4 separate regions of the Homo sapiens genome follow, and all the other regions are linked to region 3. The links are contacts of gene promoters, found by promoter capture Hi-C in blood cells and fetal thymus (Javierre and others, 2016). All regions are on one chromosome and are shown on one strand. Each heading gives the region's core, a stretch centred on a gene start or on the middle of the fragment in contact. The rest is flanking DNA. Distances are from core to core; before and after follow the strand shown. Region 1 holds the start of C2orf76 (chromosome 2 open reading frame 76). Region 2 holds the start of STEAP3 (STEAP3 metalloreductase). Region 3 holds the start of INSIG2 (insulin induced gene 2). Region 4 holds the start of TMEM177 (transmembrane protein 177).

Region 1 (2,700 bases), core at 144-2,643, 1.3 Mb after region 3:
TCAGACTGAAAACCCTAGATTTGTTCCCTATTGCATCTTCATTTCTTCCCAAACATTCCATAAAACGTGACCTACATTAAGTTAGCAAGTTAAGTCTGAAAGCGTCTACCTTCCCTGGGGAGGGGGAAGGTGTAGGCAGGGCAGAGATTTGTAGTCCAGCCCTCTTGCCACAAATTATGAATTAGAGAGGAATGACTTTGCTTTTTTAATGATCTCCAGAGAATTTTCCATCATTTCCCTCTCTTCACCCAGCTCCTTTGCAACCACTGCCAGAGAAGTCTTCCTTTAGCTTCTTAAACATCGATCCTAAAACACTTCCAGACACCTGTGCTGCTCCTTTCAGTTCCCATGGAGATTAGGCTGTGTAACAATCTCGCAAAGACGTTCCCCTCCGTCTCCTCATCCTCTTTTCAAACCCTTTTACGATTTCCCATCTCACTCAGCATGACAGTCAAAGTCCCTGTGATGGCCAACTTCTGCATCACCTAGCCAGTCTGCCACCGCCAAAACTCTCCAGCCTCATCTTTCTACTCTTCCCCTGGTTCCTTGCCCACGCCTTTACACTTGTTCTCTGCTTGGAATCTTCCCTCCCCTCCTTGAGGAACTTTCTCAAATGTCACCTTCCCTCAATACTCCCCCTCCTCCATTTAAAACTATAAACTTCCAACTCTCTAAGCCCCTAAAGTACTCTATATTTAACTTATTGTATAAACTACTGTCCCTACTTGTAAGTTCCAAGATTGCAGGGATTCACCCGCTTTGTTCACTGCTGTCTGCCAAGGTCTAGAACAGTGCAAGTTACCCAACAGGAGTTCAATAAACAGCCATTCATTTAACAAATATTTGCTGAGCACTTCGTCCCGTCCAAGTTTGTTAAATCAAGACAAATAAGACACCGTCCCTGCCTTTAACGCACCAGATGGAGAAATGCACCACAGACATAAATGTGCAATACAGGCCTGACACTACGGCCACAAGCAAGTCAAAGAACGTGCCAAAAGTTCAGAGGAAGAAGCCTCGGCTTCGCCTTTCGGGAGACCAGTCCAGCTTTCCACCATCACGCTGCTCATCAGGGACCATCTCCGGGGGTCTCCTCTAGACCCCAAGGGAGGAGCGGGTCCCGCCCGCCATTCCCAGGTCTCAGAGTTTACTTGTCCAGAGATGCAACTTCCGGCCTCTTCAGGCCGGGCAAGATTTAAGGAAAGAAAAGAAACATAAGGACCTCCGTTCTTCGGTCTCCGTCCCCTCCCCTTCCCCCGCGTGCCGTCCCCACAACGGGCCAGGACTGAACCCAACTCTCGACCAACTCCCGGCAGCAAAACTAAGCACCCTACTTCCGTTGTCCCCACCTGTTCCCGGCGTCCCCTTCGGCTACTCCCGGCGTTTGCGCAAGCGGTCCCACGTGGGCTCGGGCGGGGCTAGCGCCGCGGCGGGGGCTGGGCACGCCCCTAGCGCATAGCTGGCTTCTGATTGGCTTTCCGGTGCTCGCCCGAGCAGGGTTGGGGCGAGTGGACCGCGCCTCTAAAGGCGCTTGCCAGTGCAATCTGGGCGATCGCTTCCTGGTCCTCGCCTCCTCCGCTGTCTCCCTGGAGTTCTTGCAAGTCGGCCAGGATGTCTCAGGTACAGCGCGTGCACAGCCAGGCTGCGAAGGTGCAGCGGGCGGGAGGCCCGTTGGGGGCTCAGCCGGCTGCCAGAAGCTCTCGGGCTCTTTCCTTCCGTGCCCCTCACTTGCTCATGGGCCCATGCCTAGCCCTGATTCGTTGGACAGAGCCTTGTGAGCGGGATTTTCCGTTTGGGGATTTCTAAATCTGCTGCCCACCCCGCAACTGCCGGAAAGTTGCCCATGGGGTGGACTTCGCTGTGTAGCGGGAGAGGGGTGGGAGTCGAGGGTGCTTGATGGAGAGATGGGGGAAGGGGTTGCACGGATTGGAGGAGCGAGGAGACTCAGTCCCCATCCCGAAGCACAGGGCAGGACGTCGCGGCGGAGTGGGGAAGCGAGGAGTCCGTGGCCGAGAGCTTGGAGGTCAGGGGAAGTACGGGGCCGGCTGCTCAGAGTGCGGGACGAGGAGAATCGCGGCCCGGGGAGAGGTGACCCAGGGGCCCCTCCCTTCTCTCCAGTGTAGACCCTTGTCTGAGACCGAGCTATGTGGGGCGACCTCTGGCTCCTCCCGCCTGCCTCTGCCAATCCGGGCACTGGGACAGAGGTCGGTGTTGAACGCGCGGGCCCCAGGGGGAGGGAGGGGACCAACGGGCTCCGGCGCTGACACCGCGGCACTCATGCCCTGTCCCCTTTCAGCTGTTTCCAGCATACTGTGCCCCGTCTGTCCTCAGGCCAGGGCTTCGCTGCAGCCCCGGCCACTCCCTAGTGCCTGGCCCGGTGGTGGCCAGGCAGTTGGCCGCGCTGCTTCTCCCGCAGAGGGGACCCCCACTGGGGGCGAAGGCTTGGCCTGCCCTCTTCACTGCTGTATTTCCAGACCTGATGCCTGCGTTTGTGAGAGCTCTGGATATATGGTTTTCGATTGAATGAGTGAACTGGAGGGGCTTCCCCTTCTTGTGTTGCTGAATCTTTCTAGCTGCCCTGTTGGGGCAGGGAGGGGCAGACACACTTCAGGGGCTGCATTGCCCGAAGGGTGCCACCTTTCCCACCTCTCCATCCCCGTAACTGGGCTGTCATCAGGCCACAGTAGGATTCTTACCCTC
Region 2 (2,804 bases), core at 106-2,605, 1.1 Mb after region 3:
ATAAGAGGTGTTGCCCTGGGGCAAGGTGGGACAGGAAAGTTCTTGCAAGAGAAGAGAGGCTCTGGCCTTGGGCCCTGGCTGAGCAGAGAGCTGGGAGGTGGGTATTCGGGTAGGAGGAAAGCTGTGGAGGGGGAAAGCAAACTGCCTGCGGGGGTGGGGGGGTTCTCGGCGGGAGTTGGGGGTGGAGGGAAAGGCGCTTTACAGCAGCACTCCCTCCACAGGGAGACCAGAGCTCTGCCTCTTCCTCCCCACCGTGCCCTTTGGGGTCCAGTTGTGGGGCCTTCCTTGAGGCCCAGCTCCTGCCTCTGGCCTCCGGAGGCTTATCTCCCCAACAGAGGCTGGCTCCCCAGAAAACAGGATTCTTAGACTTCCTAAAAATAACCTGAAGCTCCTTATCAGAGGCTAATAGTGTATGTCTCCCAGGAATACTCTAGAAAGAGTACCAGGGGTCAGGAACCCCCACTCAGCCTCCACGAATCTGAGCGGAAAAGCCCGGGTCTCCTCACCTGTAAAGAAAATAACTGCAGCCGGCAAATGTGACCACAGGTGAGAAGGGGCTTCGGACCAGGGCGCACACCTCTAGAGAGGTGCCCACAGACAGCCTCCCCTTACTTACGCCCTGCTTCGCTGCAGTGCTGTGAAGCCATCGGCATTGGAAGTGCGGAGGGCAGCGGGCAGTGCCCCAGGGGGAAGGGGGGACGGGTAGGGTTTCAGAGCCCAGAAGGCCTAGACAGGGAGGCAGCTCCGGGAGAAAGGTACCCGCCATCCCACCGGTCTTGGAACCTGAGGACTGCTGGGAAGGGTCAAAAGTCTGCCCTAAGGGTGGACAAGGGACAGAGATTGGGGGGGGACCACAAAGGCCTGGGCGCAACCTTGTTGAGAGGGAAGGGATCCGGACCCAATCTGGAGCCCTGGTCTCTTCCCACCTGCAACCGTGGCTGCCACTTGGCCTCGGTTATAAAATGGACAAGGATTCGAGGTGCTCCTCAGGTTAAGAGAGGGGGGCCTAGAGGTCACCCTGGCCTCGGTGCCCTCCGTGGCCGGGTTAAGAGGAGGTCCCGGAGTTCTGCTCACTTCAGCCGTGTGCCGGGCACTGCAAATCAGGAAGTGTTGGCGCCGGCTGGCGACCTCCCGCCTGGGGCCAGGGGAGGAGGGTGGTTGGACGCTGCCACCGCTGCCGGGGCTGTGCAGGGCTGGGCGGGGAGCGAGGACCCGGCGGCTCCTGATTGCGGCCCCGGGGGAGGTGGCCGAGCCGGATAAGCTGCGGCGGGCTGGAGGGCGGCCACCTCCCCTGCAGGTCCGGCCCTCCCGGGCGGGTGGGGCGCGGGGGAGGAGGAGCCTCGGGCCGAGCCACCGCCTTCGCCGCGGACCTTCAGCTGCCGCGGTCGCTCCGAGCGGCGGGCCGCAGAGGTGAGTGTACCCTCCCCCGGTCTCCGCGGGGCTGCGTGCTGCGCCCGGTCCCCGAGACGCCCGCCCGGTTGCACCCTGCGCCGTCGCTGCGCGGACCTCGGGTGCCGCCACACGTCTGGAGGCGACTTCTGTCCCCTGGGACCGAGCCACGTGCGCCCGGCGGCAGAGAAACCGGGTTCCGGGGCCCCCACCCCGTGTGCCTTCCTTCCCTAGGCGTGGAAGCCGCTTGCGCCGCGCAGGTTAGGCAGGGCCGGCGGCGACAGTGGCGGGGAGCAGGCTCCGGAGCCCCGGGTGCAGATGTGGGCGCCCCTCCGGATGACCCCGGCTGAGTCCACAGGTCCCGTGTGCCCCACGGCTGGGGCTCTGGCCAGCGGTCCCAAAGGAGGGCTGGTAGCTGTGGGCGGGGATCTTCCAGGCTCTTCCTCGCCAGACCTCCCAGTCCCTTCGCAGCCGAACAGGGCAGGGACAGGGGCAGGTGCAGGGGCTGGGCAGGGGCGCCCGACCTTGGTCCCCAGGAGGAGGCTGGCCTCACCAGTGCCCGCCTCTGCCCGCGGAGCCCTTGCCTGGCAAAGTTCCCCCTCCTGCCCGGCAAAGCTCCCCCTCCTGCCCACTTCCCCGAAATTTGGGGACAGGCTGCCCGGAGAGGTGTGGTTGGAACTTTGGTCACTCTGGGTAAATGAAGGGGAGGGTGTGCCCAGATAATATGCGGTTTGGGGACCAGAAAGCCGGATCCGTGGGGAGAAGCAGGAAGGTCCCGCTGGAGCCCTGGCAGAGGGCACAGAGAGGCCTCCCAAATATCCAGGGCCACCTCAGAGATGGGCTCCAGAAGTGGGGATTCTGGAAATGCCCCCAGGGAGGTATTTCTGTCCATCAGAGTGCAGCCATAATATAATTAACAGCAGATATTCCCATTTATGTGTGCCAGGCATCTTGCTAAGGGCTTTGAGCACAATATCCCAGTTAATCCTCACAACAGGAAGGCACCATTATCTCTTGTTAAAAATGGGGAAACAGCCTCAGAGAGTCCACGTATTTTGCAAGGATACACAGCTAGGAAGTTGCAGAAGTAGAATTTGAACCCAGAGTTATCTGACTTGGAGCCCAGAGGAACCTACCACTGGGGCGAAACAGGCTGTGTCCTCACGGGGATTCTGGCAGCCCCAAGAATACAGTGCTGAGAGCCAGAAGGTCCACAAAACCAAAGGGTCTCACCTGGGTGTGTCCTCTCAGTCACCTGCAAGGCTTGTTAAAAATATAGATCCCCAAGTCCCATCCGAAGCTGACTGAATCAGCTAGGGGCACCTGGAGGACCCAGACTATGTCTTACTCATCTCTGTCCCTGGTGGCCTGCAGAGGGGCTGGCAAGGAGCAGGTGCTTAGTGAATGTCTAATGG
Region 3 (2,756 bases), core at 177-2,676:
TTTGTTGGAATTCAGATTCTTTTTCAATTTTCAGAAGTAAATGTAGATAAAAAGGTCAAAAAACAAAAATCCATCTTATCGTTTATCAGTTCAAAGTAAATGAAAGGAGTTTACCATCTGACAGTCCTTTGGAAAACTATTATGCAATTACTCTCGGCCCAGATTTCATCTAGAACATTCAAGTCCATTGTAATCTTACCACATCCATACACGTTTTGGGTTAAGCCACCTCCAAATGGAATAGCTCAATAACTAATACACTCAAGAGAGATTATTTTTTCTCTCTTTTTAAAAAGAGTTGCTTAAAAAAAACAAATTCAGGGGGCAGCTCACGCCTGTAATCCCAGCACTTTGGGAGGATGAGGCGGGCGAATCACGAGGTCAGGAGTTTGAGACCAGCCTGGCCAATATGATGAAACTCCATCTCTACTAAAAATACAAAAAGTAGGCAGACATGGTGGCATGTACCTGTAGTCCCAGCTACTGGGGAGGCTGAGGCAGAAGAATCACTTGAACCCGGGAGGCAGAGGTTGCAGTGAGCCGAGATCATGCCAGTGCACTCCAGCCTGGGTGACAGAGAGAGACTCCGTCTCAAATAAATAAATAAATAAAAATAAATAAAAATTCAGAATAGGGAAGCAACTCCTCCTTATGACGAGTACCTTTCGGCACTTATATGGGCTTGCTTTTGCATTGATGGCACCACTTTCATTCAAAAAAAAAAGTTCGCTTGCACAATCTGCAAAGATCTGTTTGGCTTGGTTTCATGTTCTAAAAGTATGGTTTTAGATTAAATGAAAAATAATACTTCTGAAAAATAAGCGGTTATAAGGTTTTTAAGTTTTCTTTATGTTGGTGTAAACTTATAAAGCCCTTCCTATGAAAACTGTCCCCCAAATCACATTACTTGGTCGTCCTCGAGGAACGATTTTGAATGAAAAGCACATAAAGTGCTGTAGCATGGAGACGAGAGACAAATAACTATGCCCTTCTCCCAAAATAAGTTATGACTTACTAGGGGAGGAAAAGGAGCAAAGAGTATAAAGCCCGGTCCTCTGCGGGAAGTACCCGGAGGCCTGCCCCGGAACGCGCTCCTTTCGGCTACGAGATGAGGGGCACGCAGACGGACGCGCCCCTCGGTGAGTGTGCGTGTATCAGTGCATGATTCCTTTACTCCGCCCACAGGGTCTGGGCATCCGTCATTACCTACGGCTGCCTGGTCAGCAAACAACAGCAGATCCGACAACCGCCAGTCACCTCGACGGTCCACGCCCACCGCTAGCCTCCAGTTTCCCGCAGACCGGAAGCCCTTTTGCCCCGGCTCGCAGGTCCACGTCTTATTGACAGCAGGAACCGGAAGCTCTTCTGCCCCGATCGCCTGCGCGCGGCCTCGTTGGCCGCACAGGCGCAGTGGAGCTCGGGCGGAGTTGTGGGAGTGGAGGAGGAAGAGGCGGTAGGGGGTACGGGGGCTGGTCCCAGAAGATGGCGGAGGCGGGGGTGAGTTGGGGGTCTCCCGGCGAAGCGCGGGTGACGTGGTGCTGAGGAAAGCGGCCTGAGGAGGAGGGTGGCCCTTGGGAAGAAGAACTACTTGTGTTTTTGCAGCCTGGGAACCCTGGTGGCAGGTGCGGGGAGCCAGGACCACTGATGGGCCTGCAGGGCAAGGGGCTCCGCTTACCTGAGAGGGGTCCGCAAGGTCCAGAAGGGGACTGCGGGATCGGGGAGGGGGTATAGGAGGGGTCGAGGCTCCCCGGACAGTGGATGAGTGTCTGAGCGGGAAGAAGGCTGGAGGACGGCGAGAAGGGCGACCCAATGGTCTGATGAGGTGGAGGTCAGCGAGCTGTCAAGCATAGAGCTGCCAGGACTTGGGGGCTTGTAGCCTGGGAGAGAAGACTCAGACTTGGGCGGGGATTGGATCCAAAGAAGACAGGTTGTCGTAGTAAGTTTATAATCCACTAAGGAGATAGGGCATTGGGTTGAGGAGTAATACTCTGGCATTTTTGACTGGAATTGGTTACCTATGGAATAGGTGTTTCGGTAAAGCCAAATAATTCTTGCCAGGGCCTAGAAGTGGATTTGATGATAATTACTAGATTTTAGGGTTGCTTAGTGGGGATTGGCAATATGGAGAAGGAAAGCAGTGTGGATTATGGGAGTGGGCGCGGGCAATGGCGCTAACACTTAAGTGATAATGACCCATGTCCAGTTAACGTTGGAAAAAGTTGTTAAAGTATGATATTAGCTAGATGCTCTAGGAAAATATACCATGAAGAACTTGCTGTTTTGTAGGATTGATGAAGAAATGCTTTAAAAAGGAATGGTTAGGCTTGGCAGCTGGGCCACTGAAACTGTTTGGTATCAGTATTGCGGTGGAGCTGAGGACTGCAGGGGAATGCGTGCTCCCGTCCTGGTGCAGAAAAAATAAAAGCAGCCAGACAGTAGCTAGATGGTGTTTTGTAACTTTTGGGTTTGGCCCTGATAGTGAACCACTGAATGAAGATGGATGAAGGGAATGCTACTAATGGGGGCCCCAAAGAAAACAAAAATCAGACGTGTGCTCTTCCTGTTTTCTGTCTTTCATTCTTTCCCTGTACTTTGTGCTCAGTACTGTGTTTTGTCATTGTGTTATGTCGTAGTTCTCAGTTCACATCTGCTGTACAGTGACCAAGCTGTGAATCATGTCCACTCGGGAAAGAGGTTGATTCTGTTTAACTGACAACTGTTGCTTTTGCAGATGGTCACACGGAAAAGGAAAGAAT
Region 4 (2,942 bases), core at 271-2,770, 1.6 Mb after region 3:
CCTCCTTGGCCTCCCAAAGTGCCAGGATTACAGGCGTAAGCCACCGCGCCCAGCCCAAGGTGTCTTTTTTACAGTTAGTTTATTTGGTTCAGGATCCCAATAAAAGTCACATATTGCATTTAACTGCAATGACTCTCAAGTCTCTTTTCTTTTGAGTCCCCCTCCTTCCCTGTTTATGCCATTGATTTGTTGGATAAACCACGTCATTTGCCCTGTAGAATGTCCCACATTCTGGCTTTGGCTGAGGTCACATTGCACTATTTACATACAAACAACTGAGCAGCCAAAATTGGGGGGGGGGGCTCAGAAACAGAACAGACTTTAATAATAATAGCTAATGGCTAGGCGGCACAAACCGTGAGGCACAGGTTACATATACACCAACTCATTTTATCACACAGCTAGTAAGGGGTGGAGCCCGGCTTTAACCCTAGGCAGTCTGTTTTCACCCTCTGTAAAGGATTGGGCATGGCTGTGTTCCAAGAAAACTTTATTTACAAAAGCAGGTGGAGAGCTGGATTTGGTGCACAGATTAGATGATCCCTCATCTACCTCACAGAGCAGCTGGAAAGGAGAAATGACAGATGGCACGCTGCTCTGTGGACTGTACAGTGTGAAGCACCTGGGAGGAGCTTGGGGGGCAGCGAACATGGTAATAAACATAAAGCTCAGAGCTCCCCGCCAAGGGTGAGCGCTTCCAGACGGAGAAGTACACGGGCCGGCCAGTCAGATGGGCATGGGTTCTGATGGGGGCCCTGCCATAGGCCGCCTGGTGACCCACGCGGGGCTGCCGTTCCTTCGGGGGTTCAACGGCATGATCAAAGACACCGGGATGTGTGTGTGTGTGTGTGTGTGTGTGTGTGATGATCAAAGACACCGGGGTGGGTGTGTGTGTGTGTGTGTGTCATGATCAAAGACACCAGGGTATGTGTGTGTGTGTGTGTGTGTGTGGCATGATCAAAGACACCGGGGTGTGTGTGTGTGTGTGTGTGGCATGATCAAAGACACCGGGGTGTGTGTGTGTGTGTGTGTGTGTGACGGAGTCTCGCTCTGTCGCCCAGGTTGGAGTGCAGTGGCGTATTCTCGGCTCACTGCAACCTCTGCCTCCCAGGTTCAAGCGATTCTCCTGCCTCAGCCTCCCCAGCAGCTGGGGACTACAGGCGTGCGCCACCACGCCCAGCTAATTTTTGTATTAATCAAAGACGCATTTCAACGCAGAGGAGGAAGTGCTAGCGGACCCACCCCAAGGTGCACAGTTAGAGAAGGAGCCTCTGCGGCGGCCGGAGCCCCCCACGGACATCCCCTTGAGGCCCCCCCAGCCACACCCCCAAGAGTCCCGCCCCCAGACCCGTCGAGCGAGCTCCCCTCCCTGAAATCCTCGCCCCGAGATCTCCGGCCGGCGAGCTCCGCCCCCTGAAGTCCCCATCCCAAGATCCGGGGCCGGCGAGCTCCGCCTCCCGAAGTCCCCGCCCCCAGATCCCCGGCCGGCGTGCTTTGCGGCCGCCCTGCCGCGCGCACATGTAGGCGTTCCGAGCGGCGGCGGAGGTGAGCGCACGGACGAGCGGGAGGGACCCTTCTCCGGCCTGATGCGACCCGGTAACGCGTTCAGACTGCGGAGTAGCCTAGGGGCCCAGAGTGGAAGCGTAGCGAGGACCCCTCTGCGGGGCTCCTGCAGCCCCTCCTCCCCCAGCCACCGGCGGGCTGCATGGTACTGTGTTCTAGGCCCACCCCGCAGCGCGATGGCCCTAGGGACGTTGGACTTTGGTCCAGACCTTTCCTTTCTTAGCCTCACTTTCCGCATTGGGAAAAAAAAAAAGCCCGAATGATAATGATTCTTATAGGAGTTCTTGATTAAGATAGGCCAAGCGGTACCCTGCGTTTTTGTTTGCGGCAACTCATTCGTTGCTCATTAAGCACTTTTCACGGACAGGAATACAGTAAGTTTCAATCAAAGTGAAATAATTGTGAATTTTTACTGACGTATTCACGGATGAAGTGATAGGATGCCCGGGGATGTTTCAAAATAAACCAGTTGGACGGAAGTGTGGTGGAAAGAGAAATCAAACAAGATTGGCCATGAGTTGATGGGATTGAAGTTGATGGATGTACTATTTTGTCTACTTTGGTATATGCTTGTAATTTGGCATAACAAGTTTTCTAAAACAAAAAGTTTGCTGTGGACACCTGACTATGCCTGTGTTAGCTTGCTAGAGCTGCCATGCCGAAGTACCGGAGACTGGGTGGCCCAACCAGCAGAAATTTGTCCTCTGGGAGTTATGGAGGCTGGAAGTTCAAGACCAGGGTGTTAACAGGGTTGGTGTCTTCTGAGACCTCCCTTCTTGGCTTGTAGGTGGTAGCCTTTTCCCTGGATCCTCACATGATCTTCCTGCTGTGCCTGTTTGCATCCTAATCTCTTCTTATAAGTACACCAGTCAAATTGGATTAGGATCCATACTGATGGCCTCATTTTATCTTAATTATCTCCTTAAAGACCCTGTCTCCAAATACAGCCACAGTCTGAGGTACTGGGGGTTAGGACTTAAATATATGAACTGGGGAGGAGGAGGAGACACAGTGCAGCCCATAACACTGTCACTTCACTAGCTTAGGATTTTGGCCATTTAAGTTTTCACAGCTTTGAAATAGGGTTAGCTGTAGTAATTAGGTCATGGGGTTGTGAGGGTTCAATCGGTAAGAGTGCTCAGAACTGAGTCTAGCATATAGTAAGCACTCAATAAATTGAACACGTTTTTCCTTATAAATTAGTAATCATAGGGCTTTACCATGGGATGAGTGGAATGAGGCAGTTGGAGTGCCGTGCCCAGCGATGGGAATAAAAGTCATTACAGCCATTATTATAAGGAATATCTGCTGCTGTGCCAGACACTAAATGTTTTATGTATGTTTATTCATGTGCTCATCACCGCCACCCTAGAGGTGGG

What was found. The method cuts DNA at HindIII sites, captures the fragments that hold promoters and counts their contacts. A CHiCAGO score of 5 or more calls a contact.
Region 1: the fragment with the promoter of C2orf76 here is called in contact with the fragment with the promoter of INSIG2 in region 3 in 1 of 17 cell types (naive CD8 T cells); the score reaches 5.4 in naive CD8 T cells.
Region 2: a contact is called between the fragment with the promoter of STEAP3 here and the fragment with the promoter of INSIG2 in region 3, in 8 of 17 cell types (erythroblasts, total B cells, naive B cells and 5 more). The highest score is 10.8, in erythroblasts.
Region 4: the fragment with the promoter of TMEM177 here is called in contact with the fragment with the promoter of INSIG2 in region 3 in 1 of 17 cell types (total CD8 T cells); the score reaches 5.2 in total CD8 T cells.

The regions. Positions count from the first base shown.
Region 1 is chr2:119,365,441-119,368,140 of GRCh38, forward strand. It overlaps C2orf76 (chromosome 2 open reading frame 76), which reads right to left and starts at 1,394. Exons shown (of 6, transcript NM_001322331.2): 1 at 1,350-1,394. DBI (diazepam binding inhibitor, acyl-CoA binding protein) reads left to right here and starts at 1,537. Exons shown (of 4, transcript NM_001079862.4): 1 at 1,537-1,620. The coding sequence starts at 1,612. RefSeq lists enhancers at 968-1,227, 1,598-1,927, 2,458-2,657 and a silencer at 1,348-1,497. The HindIII fragment of the contact is 12,909 bases long and covers 1-2,700 here.
Region 2 is chr2:119,222,479-119,225,282 of GRCh38, forward strand. It overlaps STEAP3 (STEAP3 metalloreductase), which reads left to right and starts at 1,356. Exons shown (of 6, transcript NM_182915.3): 1 at 1,356-1,410. RefSeq lists silencers at 1,099-1,878, 1,939-2,008. The HindIII fragment of the contact is 5,957 bases long and covers 1-2,804 here.
Region 3 is chr2:118,087,045-118,089,800 of GRCh38, forward strand. INSIG2 (insulin induced gene 2) reads left to right here and starts at 1,427. Exons shown (of 6, transcript NM_016133.4): 1 at 1,427-1,497. It overlaps LOC107985940 (a long non-coding RNA gene), which reads right to left and starts at 1,387. Exons shown (of 3, transcript XR_001739662.3): 1 at 1,207-1,387. RefSeq lists enhancers at 1,132-1,181, 1,192-1,381. The HindIII fragment of the contact is 7,859 bases long and covers 1-2,756 here.
Region 4 is chr2:119,677,681-119,680,622 of GRCh38, forward strand. TMEM177 (transmembrane protein 177) reads left to right here and starts at 1,521. Exons shown (of 2, transcript NM_030577.3): 1 at 1,521-1,596. RefSeq lists a silencer at 1,368-1,597. The HindIII fragment of the contact is 6,463 bases long and covers 1-2,942 here.